3 separate regions of the Homo sapiens genome follow, and all the other regions are linked to region 1. The links are contacts of gene promoters, found by promoter capture Hi-C in human tissues and cell types (Jung and others, 2019). All regions are on one chromosome and are shown on one strand. The core of a region is centred on a gene start or on the middle of the fragment in contact, and the rest is flanking DNA. Distances in the headings are between cores, read along the strand shown.

What was found. Contacts are between HindIII fragments. The study calls those that stand out against the background at their distance.
Region 2: a contact is called between a fragment that was not itself captured here and the fragment with the promoter of F10 in region 1, in 2 of the 25 tissues and cell types used here (H1 embryonic stem cells and dorsolateral prefrontal cortex).
Region 3: a contact is called between a fragment that was not itself captured here and the fragment with the promoter of F10 in region 1, in 2 of the 25 tissues and cell types used here (IMR-90 fibroblasts and mesenchymal stem cells).

What each region holds. Positions count from the first base shown.
Region 1 is chr13:113,120,911-113,124,994 of GRCh38, forward strand. F10 (coagulation factor X) reads left to right here and starts at 1,889. Exons shown (of 8, transcript NM_000504.4): 1 at 1,889-2,015. The coding sequence starts at 1,946. The HindIII fragment of the contact is 14,274 bases long and covers 1-4,084 here.
Region 2 is chr13:112,967,124-112,970,881 of GRCh38, forward strand. It overlaps MCF2L (MCF.2 cell line derived transforming sequence like), which reads left to right and starts at 2,091. Exons shown (of 30, transcript NM_001112732.3): 1 at 2,091-2,335. The coding sequence starts at 2,257. MCF2L-AS1 (MCF2L antisense RNA 1) reads right to left here and starts at 1,515. Exons shown (of 1, transcript NR_034002.1): 1 at 361-1,515. RefSeq lists an enhancer at 1,246-1,765 and a silencer at 1,967-2,026. The HindIII fragment of the contact is 3,406 bases long and covers 1-3,153 here.
Region 3 is chr13:113,279,759-113,283,954 of GRCh38, forward strand. No RefSeq gene overlaps it. Among named protein-coding and RNA genes, the nearest start is that of LAMP1, 15 kb to the right of the region's middle. The HindIII fragment of the contact is 8,108 bases long and covers 1-4,196 here.

The sequences.
Region 1 (4,084 bases), core at 639-3,138:
GTTTCCTCATGTGTAAAACAGGAGCCCACCGTGATGCTTATGGTGGGATGAGATCAGCATGGATGGAACAAGGCCCTGGAAGGGCCCATGCCATGGTCATCGACAGCAAAGCCACTCTGCAGACAGATGCTTCAGTGAATTGGTAGAAAATTCTGCAACCAGAATGCCCGGGGCTCCTGAGGGCCTAAGCCCAGCCCAGGGTTCTGGAAGCCACTCTGACTTCTTGGGAGTGGAAGTTGGCAGGACTCTTCCTGGGAAGAAGCGGAGGGTGGGGATGAGAGGACAGTTCAGGAGCCCACCCAGACCCACAGGAGGAAACTAGGGGAGTCATGCGGGGTCCTGGTGGAGCGCCAGCCTCCCTTCCTGCCAATGGGAAATGCAGGCGCCCACCTCATGGTGCTGCCGGAGGAGGGGGCCCGGGACTCCCCAGAGGCTTCGCTGAAGGGCCTGGGCGCCCCCAAAGGCTACATGTTTCATATGGGACGTGCCACCTGCCACGGCTCAGCTCCAGCTTTCTGTGAGTGGCGAGATAGAATACGGGGAGGCCACTGGCCATGGGCCTGGGACAGGGTGGGATGAGGCGGCAGGCTTGGGCCACCAAAGCCAGCATCGCCACCCAGCATTGATGACAAAGACTGCGTGTCTGCCATGAGCATCCTGCTGTTGGTGCACACACCGCATTGGTCTCTCCATACAAACATGCCTAGAGGCGATGTCAGAGGGTGGAGACCAGGAGAGGCAGGAGTCAGACATCTGGTGCCACCAGGAAGGCCCTTCTCAGAGGACCAGGCTGTGCGTGGTGCCCGCCGTGGGAGGCCAGCCTGGCGTTGGCATCCAGCATCATCAGTTTGTGCAGTCGGGTGGGGCTCAGTGAGTGCCTCCTGTGTGCCAGGCACAATGACGCACAATGTGTGCACACCAGGCTCATGTGCAGGTGGCTGCGAGACAGGGCGACCCATCAAGGCAGATGCACCATGAGGCAGTGGCCAGTGCTGTGGGTGTTAGGGGCATTGCTCCCCGGCCACTACGGCATAGCAGGCAGTGATCGCCACACTGGCCAAGCTTTAGACCATTTATTCCAGAGACCCCAGAGGCAAAAAGCCCGGCTGCACCTCCCAGTGACTCCCACAGCCATTGAGCAGAGACACTCAGGACCTTGTGATGGGAGGTTTCTGCACTGGAGAACGAGCCCAGAAGCCCTCTCAGCCTCGGAACAGTGTGGCCAGTGGTGGGCAGGTCAGGAGGGGCTTCAGACACAGCCTGTCCCTCCAGATGGTCACGGGAAGGTCACTCCCCACAGAAGTACGTTTTGGGGCCATGCGGGCACAGAAGGTTTGGGGGTGGGTGGGGCAGGTGCCAGCCTGGCCTGTGGGAGGCCATGGTGCAGATGCCAAGCCCCCCCCGTGACATGAGACCACCTGATACCACCCAGAGAGTGGCTGTGAGCGGAAGGGCCCGCCCAGAAACAAGCAGGGCCTTGGGGCAGAAGTCCTGGGCTCAGATCCCACGCTCACTGCCAGCGGCCTCGGCTCAGGCTTCTGCGCTCTCTAAACTTAGTTTTCTCTTCTGGAAAAATGATGGGGAAAATGATATTTGTATGTGAGGACTGAGAGTTAAATGTAAACATCTGGAAACTACAAAATGAGCACGAAATGATGTTTTTATTCTTAGAACAGAAAGTCCCCACACCCGCGGCCCTGGTGACTGATGAGGATGAGGTTCTGCGGGGCCTCTCTGGCCGCCCAGCTCTGCCTGGGGAAGGTGGGGCCAGAGTGGATGTGTTCCCAGCGTGGTCACTCCCCTGCCTCGCCAGCAGGTCTCGGCTCCAATCAGGAGGCCTAAGCCAAGTGATAAGCAGCCAGACAACAGCCATCCCAGCTGGGGCGTGGACTTTGCTCCAGCAGCCTGTCCCAGTGAGGACAGGGACACAGTACTCGGCCACACCATGGGGCGCCCACTGCACCTCGTCCTGCTCAGTGCCTCCCTGGCTGGCCTCCTGCTGCTCGGGGAAAGTCGTAAGTGCCCCTCGCCCTTCAGACCCAAAAGCAGCGCCAGGGAGCAGGGAGGGGCGGCAGTTGGGGAAACCCTCTCATCTCTGCAGCCTGGACGGTGGGTGCCTTGAGTGCTGCCAGAGGCTGGGCTCGGATGGCTGGGCTTGGCCTTTCCAGCCAACGGCATCCTCAAGGCCAGCTGTGGCTCCCTGGGGCTGAGAGTCAGACGGGCGGATCAGAGGTCACAGAGACAAAAACACAAGGACAGAGTCAGAGAGAGAAAGGGAGAGGGAAGGAGAAACGGAGACACAGTGAGATGGGAGGCCAAGAGGCAGAGACAGAGGTAGAAAGACGGAGACAGAGAGAGAGGGAGGGGTTGGGGCAGGCAGAGACAGGACAGTTAGCCATCTGCCACCACAGGGAGGCACAGGACGAGGGGCACAGCAGAGGAGCTCCCAGGGAGGAGGAGGCTGAGCCGAGCCAGTGCCACCACTCTCGGACTGGCTCCGTCGGGGAAGGAGCTGCCTAATGCACAGCTGGACAGGTGGGGGCAGCAGGGCTGTCCAGGACCCCCGGGTCTGTCCAAAAGCAGAGGCCCAGACAGGACAGAAGCCAGGCAAGCCTGGGGACAGCGGAGGAAGAGGAGGCCCCTCTGGTGGGGACACGAGAGACAGGGACCCTAGACTTGTTTGCATCCTGGACAAAGTGGACAGGCAGGGGCACCAAGGGGACCCAGGCCTGGGAAGGGAATGTGTGAGGGAGAGACGGAGCAGGGGGAGACCCTCGTGGGGTGGAAAGGGGAGACCCCTGGGAAGGCTGAGTGGATCCTCAGTGCATCACTGACCTAAACGGCCCCTCCGCCTGGTGACTTGGAGCTCCAGTCACATCACACGGGGGTCTTCTCCATCCCACCCTCAACCCCCTGCCCTCCCCAGCCTCTGTCCCCTGAGCCACATCTTCCTGTCTCCCACGCGGAACGGGACTCCCGTCTTCATGGGGTACTGTGTGGCTCCAACTCGCCCAGCCTTCTTCCTCCCCCTCAGGCCACACTGCCCCCTGCAGGAGCCCACTGTGATGCTTGTGGTGGGATGAGATCAGCGTGGGTGGAACAAGGCCCTGGAAGGACCCATGCCATCATCATCGACAGCAAAGCTACTCTGCAAACAGACAGATGCTTCCGCGAATTGGTAGAAAATTCTGCAGCCGGAATGCTCTAGGATCCTGAGGCCCTAAGCCCGGCCCGGGGCTCCCGAGGCCCTAAGCCCGGCCCGGGACTCTGGAAGCTGCTCTGGCTTATTGGGAATGGAAGTTGGCAGGACTCCTCTTCCTGGGAAGAAGCAGAGGGTGGGGATGAGAAGACAGGCCAGGAGCCCACCCAGACCCACAGGAGGAAACTAGGGGAGTTATGCAGAGTCCTGGTGGAGCGCCAGCTTCCCTTCCTGCCAATGGGAAATGCAGGCGCCCACCTCGCGGACCTCTGGGTCCACAGGGTATTGGCACCCTTAGCTGTGTGATGCGGGCCTGGCTCATAACCATGGCCTGTGGTGTCCCCGGGGGCCGGCCTGGACCCTGGGTGGACATGGCCAGCCCCGGAGAGCCAGGGCCAGGCCATCTCTCTCCCCTACTCTGCCTCAGAGGCCTCGGCAGCTGCACTGTGGGGTGGGTGGGGCTGAACACAGGTCCCAGAAGGTCCCACTCAGGACCCTGCTGTGCACACTTTTGATTTTAATAAAATCAGAATGCGCACAGCATCTGCAGTCTAGCCTTTAAACGAGCACAGCTGTCCTGGCAGTCACGGAAGTTCTTCTGGGGCGGTGGGACCTCAGCATTCCTTTGCTGGTACTGCTACAAGAAAGGACAATGGACCAAGTAGCTTAAAGCAACAGAAACATTTCTCCCACAGCTCTGGAGGCTGGAAGTTCAAAATCAAGGCGTCAGCGGGGCTGGTTCCTCCAGAGGCTGGGAGAGAGTCTGCTCTAGGCCTGTTTCCTGGCCTCGGGGTGCCAGCGGCCTCACAGCCCATGGCTTGTGGGAGCATTGCTCCCATCGCTGCCTCCATCATCGCATGGGGTTCTCACCATGGCTGTTTTTCT
Region 2 (3,758 bases), core at 201-2,700, 150 kb before region 1:
CAGGACCCTTCTGCCTGATGACAGGCTTTCCCTGAAGCTGGAGGGGCAGGGTTGGGGTGGGGGGGCGGTGGGGGATGGGGAGTGGTGAAGGTTCCCTGAACTGACAGGGAATGAGAGGAGCAGACCCATTTGAGGGCACTTTTTGCAGACCATGTGTAGACAGGAGGTAGCAATTGTGCCGCCGTAGGCACCCTGGGCAGCCCAGGGAACGCTTGTCCACAGAGGGAGAGGCTCCCATCCACTCTGAGGCCTTTCCAGAGTTCTCCTTTCACTGGTCTCCAAAGAGATTCTGTAGAACCAAGTGAAACTGCTGATACTCAATACGTTTCTCATGTTAAACAAAAACAAAAACAAAGCAGCCATTTCTTACAGATTTATTCAATACTTTCTATCTGGTTATTATGCCTCTTATTCTGTAATTATTTTTTATTATGAATTATTTATTTCCAGATCTGTCTGGCCTATAAGGCCTGTAGGCACTATAAGGGGGAGTACTGCGTCACCTTCATCTTTTTATCCCTTTGGCCTTGCTCCGTGCCTGAAAGCTCACCACACTGGAACGTCCAGGTGCACATGTGCCACTGGACACCGGGATGTTGCCGGATGCTCTTTTGGACGCTGGAATGCTGGTGCATTGTTGCCGGATGCTGGAATGGTGCACGCACGCTCTGTTGGACGCTGGAATGCTGGTGCATTGTTGCCGGATGCTGGAATGGTGCACGCATGCCCTGTTGGACTCTGGAATGCTGGTGCATTGTTGCCAAATGCCGGAATGGTACACGGATGCTCTGTTGGACGCTGGAATGCTGGTGCATTGTTGCCGGATGCTGGAATGGTGCACGCATGCTCTGTTGGACGCTGGAATGCTGGCGCATGTGCACATGTTATTGGCATGAGCTGTAGTTCAAACCTCAGCCATATGATGCTTGAATTCCCAAACCATTCGTGGAAATGTGTACTTCTTCCTGCTGGAATTCTCTCTCTCTCTCTCTCTCTTTTAACTGATTGGGGAGTGAGGTGGGGGGGGGGGTCTTGCTACATTGCCCAGGCTCAAACTTCTGGGCTCAAATGATCCTCCTGCTTCTGCCTCAGCTTCTGCCTCGGCCTCCGGAGTAGCTGGGACTACAGGCCTGAAATACTGTTTCTTTAAGGAAGGGCATGTTACCTATAATACCAAACCACAAAAGGATAGCTGCGGTTTTGGGCGAGGAGAGCTCAGAGAGTTTCTTGCATATGGCCCTGTGATGGCGGCCATGGCCCTGCATAGACACGAGCTGGAATCTGCAGGTGGCAGCCAGGACGCTGCGTGTGTCGAGTGCACAGTGTGGCTTGGTGCCAACCATGGCGAGGGTGGAGAGCCCCGTGCCTGCAGCGCGCGCTTCCCTCACTGGGTCCTGCGTCCTTGGGCAGGCGATGCCCCTGCGGGGAGGGGCTGGTCCATCCCCGGCCAGCCACGGACCCACGCATGGACCCAGCGACCCACGGACCTGCTTACCTGGGCGCGGCGCGGGTGGCATGCGGCCACACGGAAGGGGCGCGCTGGGCTGCTGCGGCCTCTGCAGCTTCTACACCTGCCACGGGGCGGCCGGAGGTAAAGGGAGGCGGCGGCCAGGCGCGGCCCCGCGGAGGCAGCTGCACTCGCTCGGTCCACTCGCGGCTTCGCGGCTGCCCGCAAACCAGGAGGGCGTGGAGACCCGGAACCGGGGGGAAGGGCGGGGGCACTTGTGCGGCACCCGCGGGGCTCCCAGGGGACCTCGGCGGTGACACGAATTTCTAGGTGACCTTGGCGGTGACACGAATTTCTAGGTGACCTGTGTGATACACTAGGTGACCTAGTGACACAGGTGACACTTCCAGGTGACCGCGGCGGTGACCCGCGGGGCTCCCAGGTGACCTCGTTGGTGAGCCCCGGGGCTCCCCGACGACCGCGGCGGTGACACGCGGGGCTCCCAGGTGACCCCGGCGGTGCACTCACAGGACTCCCAGGTGACCCGCGGTGGTGACACACCGGGGCGGGCGCGCGCCGCTTCCGCTTCCGCCGAGCCGCCCCCCGCCCCCCGCGGCGCAGCGCGCGCCCCCCTCCCGGTGGCGCGGAACCAATCCTGGGCAGGGAGGCGGCGGCTGGAGGCTGAAAGCGCTGCCGTGGCCCCCTCCCCGCCTCCGCCGCGCCCCCTCCGCACTCGCACGGCCCCACCCGCAGGCGCCCCCCGTGCGGAGGAAGCGGATCTGCCAGGATCATTTTTGTTGTGTCGGAGGATGAGGTTTTGGCTGAGGACTGAAGAGATGGCCTTGGAAGAAATGGTGCAGAGATTAAATGCGGTTTCCAAGCACACGGGTAGGAGGAGCTGCTGGCCGTCAGTGATCTGTGCTTAAGCTTGACATCATGGGCTGAAATGTGGGGAAATGCGTCTGATTTTTGTAAGCCGCCCTCGTGTTCCTTTCTAGCCGTGGTAGCTGTGACATGGGGGGCACTGGTTGGCAGCTGGTGTGTTTTCAGAGGCTGTCGGCGATCGTATGCTGCCCGGGATAGTCAAAATGACTGCACGTTGGTGACACTGGCTCTCTCAGGGTTGCTGGGTCTGCATGCGGAGCCATTTGTGTGTCTGAAGTCTGCCCATCAACCTGCCTGTCCGCAGCCCTCGCAATGGAGAATGCATTGCGAATGGAGAATGATCTGAGCCAAGGGCTTTCAGAGCTTGGGGTTTCAGAGCCAGGGGTAGGGATGGTGAAGCTACCTGGAAGCTCGTTTTGAGGATGAAAAAACCTGGACTAATCAGGTGGTTCTTTTCTTCATTAAATGCAATTTAAACCTAAGACAGATGTTTGAGACGGTATGGGTAAAGAGTGGACTGGACGTTCATTTTCAGTATTAATCGAAATATTACTTCAAATAAGCTTTGAAGAGTAGTTCAGATCGATTCTTTTAGGTGTAAGCAGAGACTGGGCTGACAGCTTGCATCTGGCCGTGGCTTTCAGGCGGTCGCATCTGAGTTCTCAGGCTGTGTTATGCAGAAGGGAGAGGCATCCTTAACTCGTTTTCCTTGAAATGAAGAGGAAATAATGATATATCATTAAAAGTAAGTTGCCAAGTGTTTTGCCTGATGTTGCCATATGTTATGTCATATATGCCATTACTAGTTGTCTAACTAGTACTTGCCTGGGAGATTAAAATGTCAGTTGCTTGGTTTGGGTGTGGTTCTCTTTCTCTGCCCACCCCGATGGATTCTGAGAGTGAACCAGTGATTAAATCAGCATAAGCACCATCGTATGGGATGGTCTAATCAAGATGTTTTTAATGGGGGCTTTTATGATCAAAGCTGCTGGGTTTATTGTATGTGGGTCGAAAGAAAACAAAACCATTTTCATGCCGTCTGCTCCCTGATTCTTAGAGAATCAGCTCTTTTTCTGAAGCTTGAGTGGAGCTTTTCCGTGCAGGGTTTGCAGGGTTTGAGTATGGTGAAGGGCTGCGTGGATGCCAGGTTCACAGGGAGGCTTCCGATCGGCTGTGGGGGTGGAGGAGAAAGCCCCCCTTGCTCTGCATGCCTCTGCGTGCCGTTCGGTGTCAGAGTCACAGAGTGGGAACCGCTCCAGAGGCTGATGTCATTCCCCAGGTTTTTAGGGATTGGGGTTTCTTCATGAGCTCCAAGAGACATGTGCGCATTTTTAATTGGAAAAAGGCTATCTCAGAAGAGCAGCAGTGACACTGTCTGCTCACTGAATGTCGTGCGAGCCGGGCGCTCGGTGTGGGCCATCGTCTC
Region 3 (4,196 bases), core at 1,195-3,694, 160 kb after region 1:
AGGCGAAGGTTGCAGTGAGCCAAGATCGTGCCACTGCACTGCAGCCTGGGTGACAGAGTGAGACTCCGTCTCAAAAAAAAAAAAAAAAAAAAAAAAATTAAGCAATATATTTTTGAATAAATCTAATATAAAGAGAAAATTCTAAATAAATAACACACTTGTAAATCAGTAATCCACGAGTCAAAGAAAAATCACAAAGAACATTAGAAAATGTTTTGAATTTGATGAGTATGAAAATAATTGACCAAAAATTTGTCCGATGCACTAGAGCGTGTTTAGAGAGACATTTGTGGATTCAGATGGTTATATGATGCTGTAGACTAGTGTGTACCCCCAAAACTTGTGTGTGGAAATCCTCACCCCCAAGGTGATGGTATCAGGAGGTAGGGCCTTTGGGACGTGACGAGGTCGTGCAGGTGGAATCTGTGAATGGGATTCCTGCCCTTTTAAGAGCCCAGAGAAGTAGCCAGTCCCTTCCGCCATGCGAGGACACAGCAAGAAGGCACCATCAAAGATCCAGAAAGCAGCCCTCACCAAACAATGAGTCTGCCAGCGCCTCAATCTTGGGCTTCCCAGCCTCCAGAGCTGTGGGAAATAAATTTCCAGTGTTTATGAGTCACCCAATGTACAGTATTTTGTTATAGCAGCCAAAATGATCTAACACAACTGAAAACTACAAAACATGGTTGAAAAAAAAGTTGAAGACTAAAATAAATAGAGATGTATACCACATTATTGTCAAACCCAATATTAAGATGTCAGTCTCCTCCAAATTGATAATAGATTCAATCCAGAGCCCAGCAAAATTCTGGCTTTCTTTATAGAAAAATGACAAGCTGATTCTAAAATGTATATGGAAGTGCAAATAGTCAAAACAAATTTTAAAAGAACAAAGTTGGAAGACTTACTCTACCTAATACCAAAGACTTACTATAAATCAAGACATTGTGATATTAGCAAAAGGGGAGACATAGAGATCAACTGAGTTACACAGAGAGAATAAAACTTCATCCACTTACATCAGGTCAAGTTATTTTCAACAACGATGCCAGGCCAGGTACAGCGGCTCACACCTGTAATACCAGTACTTTGGGAGGCCGAGGCAGGTGGATCACTTGAGCTCAGGAATTCAAGACCAGCCTGGGCAACATGGTGAAACCCCATCTTTGCTAAAAATACAAATATTATCTGAGTGTGGTGGCACGCACCCGTAGTCCCAGCTACTCGGGAGGCCGAGGTGGGAGAATCACCCGCCCTGGGAAGTCGAGGCTGCAGTGAGCAGTGATGGCACCACTGCACTCCAGCCTGGGTCATGAGAGTGAGATCCTGTCTCAAAAAAGCAAAAACCAAATAAACAAAAAAATAAAGATGCCGAGGCAATTTTGACGAAAAAGCCAAACTTGTAAAATATTGAAAGAGGTTTACCCTTGAGCCCAGGAGTTTGAGGCTGCATGAGCCTATGATTGTGCCACTGCACTCCAGCCTGGGGGACAGAGCAAGATCCCATCTCAAAAAAAAAAAAAAGAAAAGAAAGAAAGAGAAAGACAGCAAGAAAGAAAGAAAAGAGAGAGAGAAAGAAAGAGAAAGAAAGAAAAGAGAAAGAAAAGAAAGAAAAAGAAAGAAAGAAAGAAAGAAAGAAAGAAAGAAAGAAAGAAAGAAAGAAAGAAAGAAAGAAAGAAAGAGGTTTATTCTGAGCCAATACAAGTGACCATGGCCCAGGGAACAGTTTCAGGAGGTCCTGAGAATGCACGTGAGGTGGCTGGGTTCCAGTTTGGTTTTACACATTTTAGGGAGGCAGAAGTTGTGGGCAAAGGCGTAAACGGATGCAGGTTAGTATACTTTGGTTTGCCTGGAAAGGCAGAGCATCTTGAAGTGAAGGTTGGAAGGGGCTTACAGGTCATGGATGGAGTCAAAGATTTTCTGATTGGCAACTGGTTGAAAGAATTAAAGACTTGAGGTCAGTAGAAAGAAATGCTTGAGATAGGATAAGGGGGTGTTGGGCTGGACGGGGTGGCTCATGCCTGGAGTCCCAGCACTTTGGGAGGCCAAGGCGGGTGGATTCGTTTGAGCCCAGGAGTTTGAGACCAGCCTGGGCAACACAGTGGATCTTGTCTCTGCAAAAAAACTCAGAAAATTTGCTGGGCGTGGTGGCACATTCCTGTAGTCCCGGCTACTCAGGAGGCTGAGGCAGGAGGATCACTTGAGCCTGGGAGGTCAAGGCCACAGTGAGCCCTGATTGTGCCACTGCCCTCCAGCCTGGGTGACAGAGCAAGACCCTGTCTCAAAATAAAATAAAATACATTAAAAAAACTGAAAGCTTGCTCTTTGATAGATACCATTAAGAAAACAAAAAGGTGGCTGGGCACGGTGGCTCACGCCTGTAATTCCAGCACTTTGGGGGGCTGAGACAGGCAGATCACGAGGTCAACAGATTGAGACCATCCTGGCTAACACGGTGAAACCGTGTCCCCACTAAAAATACAACAACAAAAAAAATTAGCCAGGCGTGGTGGCAGGTGCCTGTGGTCCCAGCTACTCGGGAGGCTGAGGCAGGAGAATGGCATGAACCCGGGAGGCAGAGCTTGCAGTGAGCCAGGATCGTGCCGCTGCATTCCAGCCTGACAGAGCAAGACTCTGTCTCAAAAAAAAAAAAAAAAAAAAAAAAAAGGCAAGGCATAGAATGGGAGAAAATATTTACAATACATAGCGCTGACAAAGGATCTGTGTCCAAAATATGTAAAGAACACTCAGAATTCAACAATAAGAAAATAAACCATTCTTAAAAATATGCCAAACATTCTATAAATAGACACTTCACTGAAAAAGATACAAATGGATATCAGACACATGAAAGGACCCTCCATGCCATTAGTTGTCAGTAAAATGCAAATGACAATCACGAGACACTATTACAAAGCTATTATAATTTTTTTAATTAAAAAGACAAATTGGGAGTGGTGGTGCACACCTGTAATCCCAGCTATTTGAGAGGCTGAGGTGGCAGGATCGCTTGAGGCCAGGACTTGAGAGCAACCTGGGCAACATAGCAAGACTCTGTTGCAAAAGACAAAAAAGAAAAAGAAAAAATTAGAAAAAAAGACTGACAATACCAAGTTTTGGCAGAGATGTGGAGACGCTGTTGTGGGGAACATGCAATGGTGCACCCACTTTGGAGAAACAGGTAGCAGTTTCTCCGGAAGCTAAACACGCACCTATCACACGCCCCAGCCATTCCACTCCCAGGTATTTACTGAAGGGAAAGCACGGATCCACAAAAGACCTGCACACAAACATTCACGGCAGCTTTATTTGTAACTACCAAAACAATGGAAACAACAACCCAAATGTCCTTCAACAGGTGCATGAGCAGACGATTATGGTAGAGCCAAACAACGGGATGTGCCTTCGCACTAAAAAGGGTGAAGGCATGCTGCATACAGCAACATGCGCAAGCCTCAAAAACATCACCCAAAGAGAAAGAACCTAGACACAACGAAGTACACACTCTGTGCTTCCAACAAAGTGAAATGCTGTGATACAAAACTCATCTCTTGTGACAAAGCAGACCCGTGGCCGTGTGGGTTTAGGGGTCGGGTGAACCGCAGAGGCCATGCGGGAGCCCTCTGGATTGAAGAAAATGTTTCCTATCTTGATTGGGGTGGTGGTTTCATGGGTATACATACTTGTAAAAATTCTTCAAACTGAGCACCTAAAATGGGTTTATTTTATGTAAACTAACCTCAATGAAGTTGATTTTAAAAGTTAAAAGAGGCCAGGTGCAGTGGCTCACGCCTGTAATGTCAGCACTTTGGGAGGCAGAGGCAGGCAGACCACTTGAGGCCAGGAGTTCAAGACCAGCCTGTCCAACATGCCGAAACCTCATCTCTACTAAAAATACAAAATTAGCCTAGCTTGGTGGCACATGCCTGTAATCCCAGCTACTTGGGAGGCTGAGGCAGAAGAAACACTTGAACCTGGAAGGCGGAGGTTGCAGTGAGCCAAGATCATGCCTCTACACTCTAGCCTGGGCAACAGAGCAAGACTTTCTCAAAATAAAATAAAAATTAAAAGAAAAAATGGAAAATGAACGAGGCATTTTTACCTAGCTCTACTTAGATAAACTAATAGTTCCTCATTGAGGATCTTTTTCAAAGTCAGTGCCATGGTCATCGTGATCTTTCTTAATGGTCTTGTCT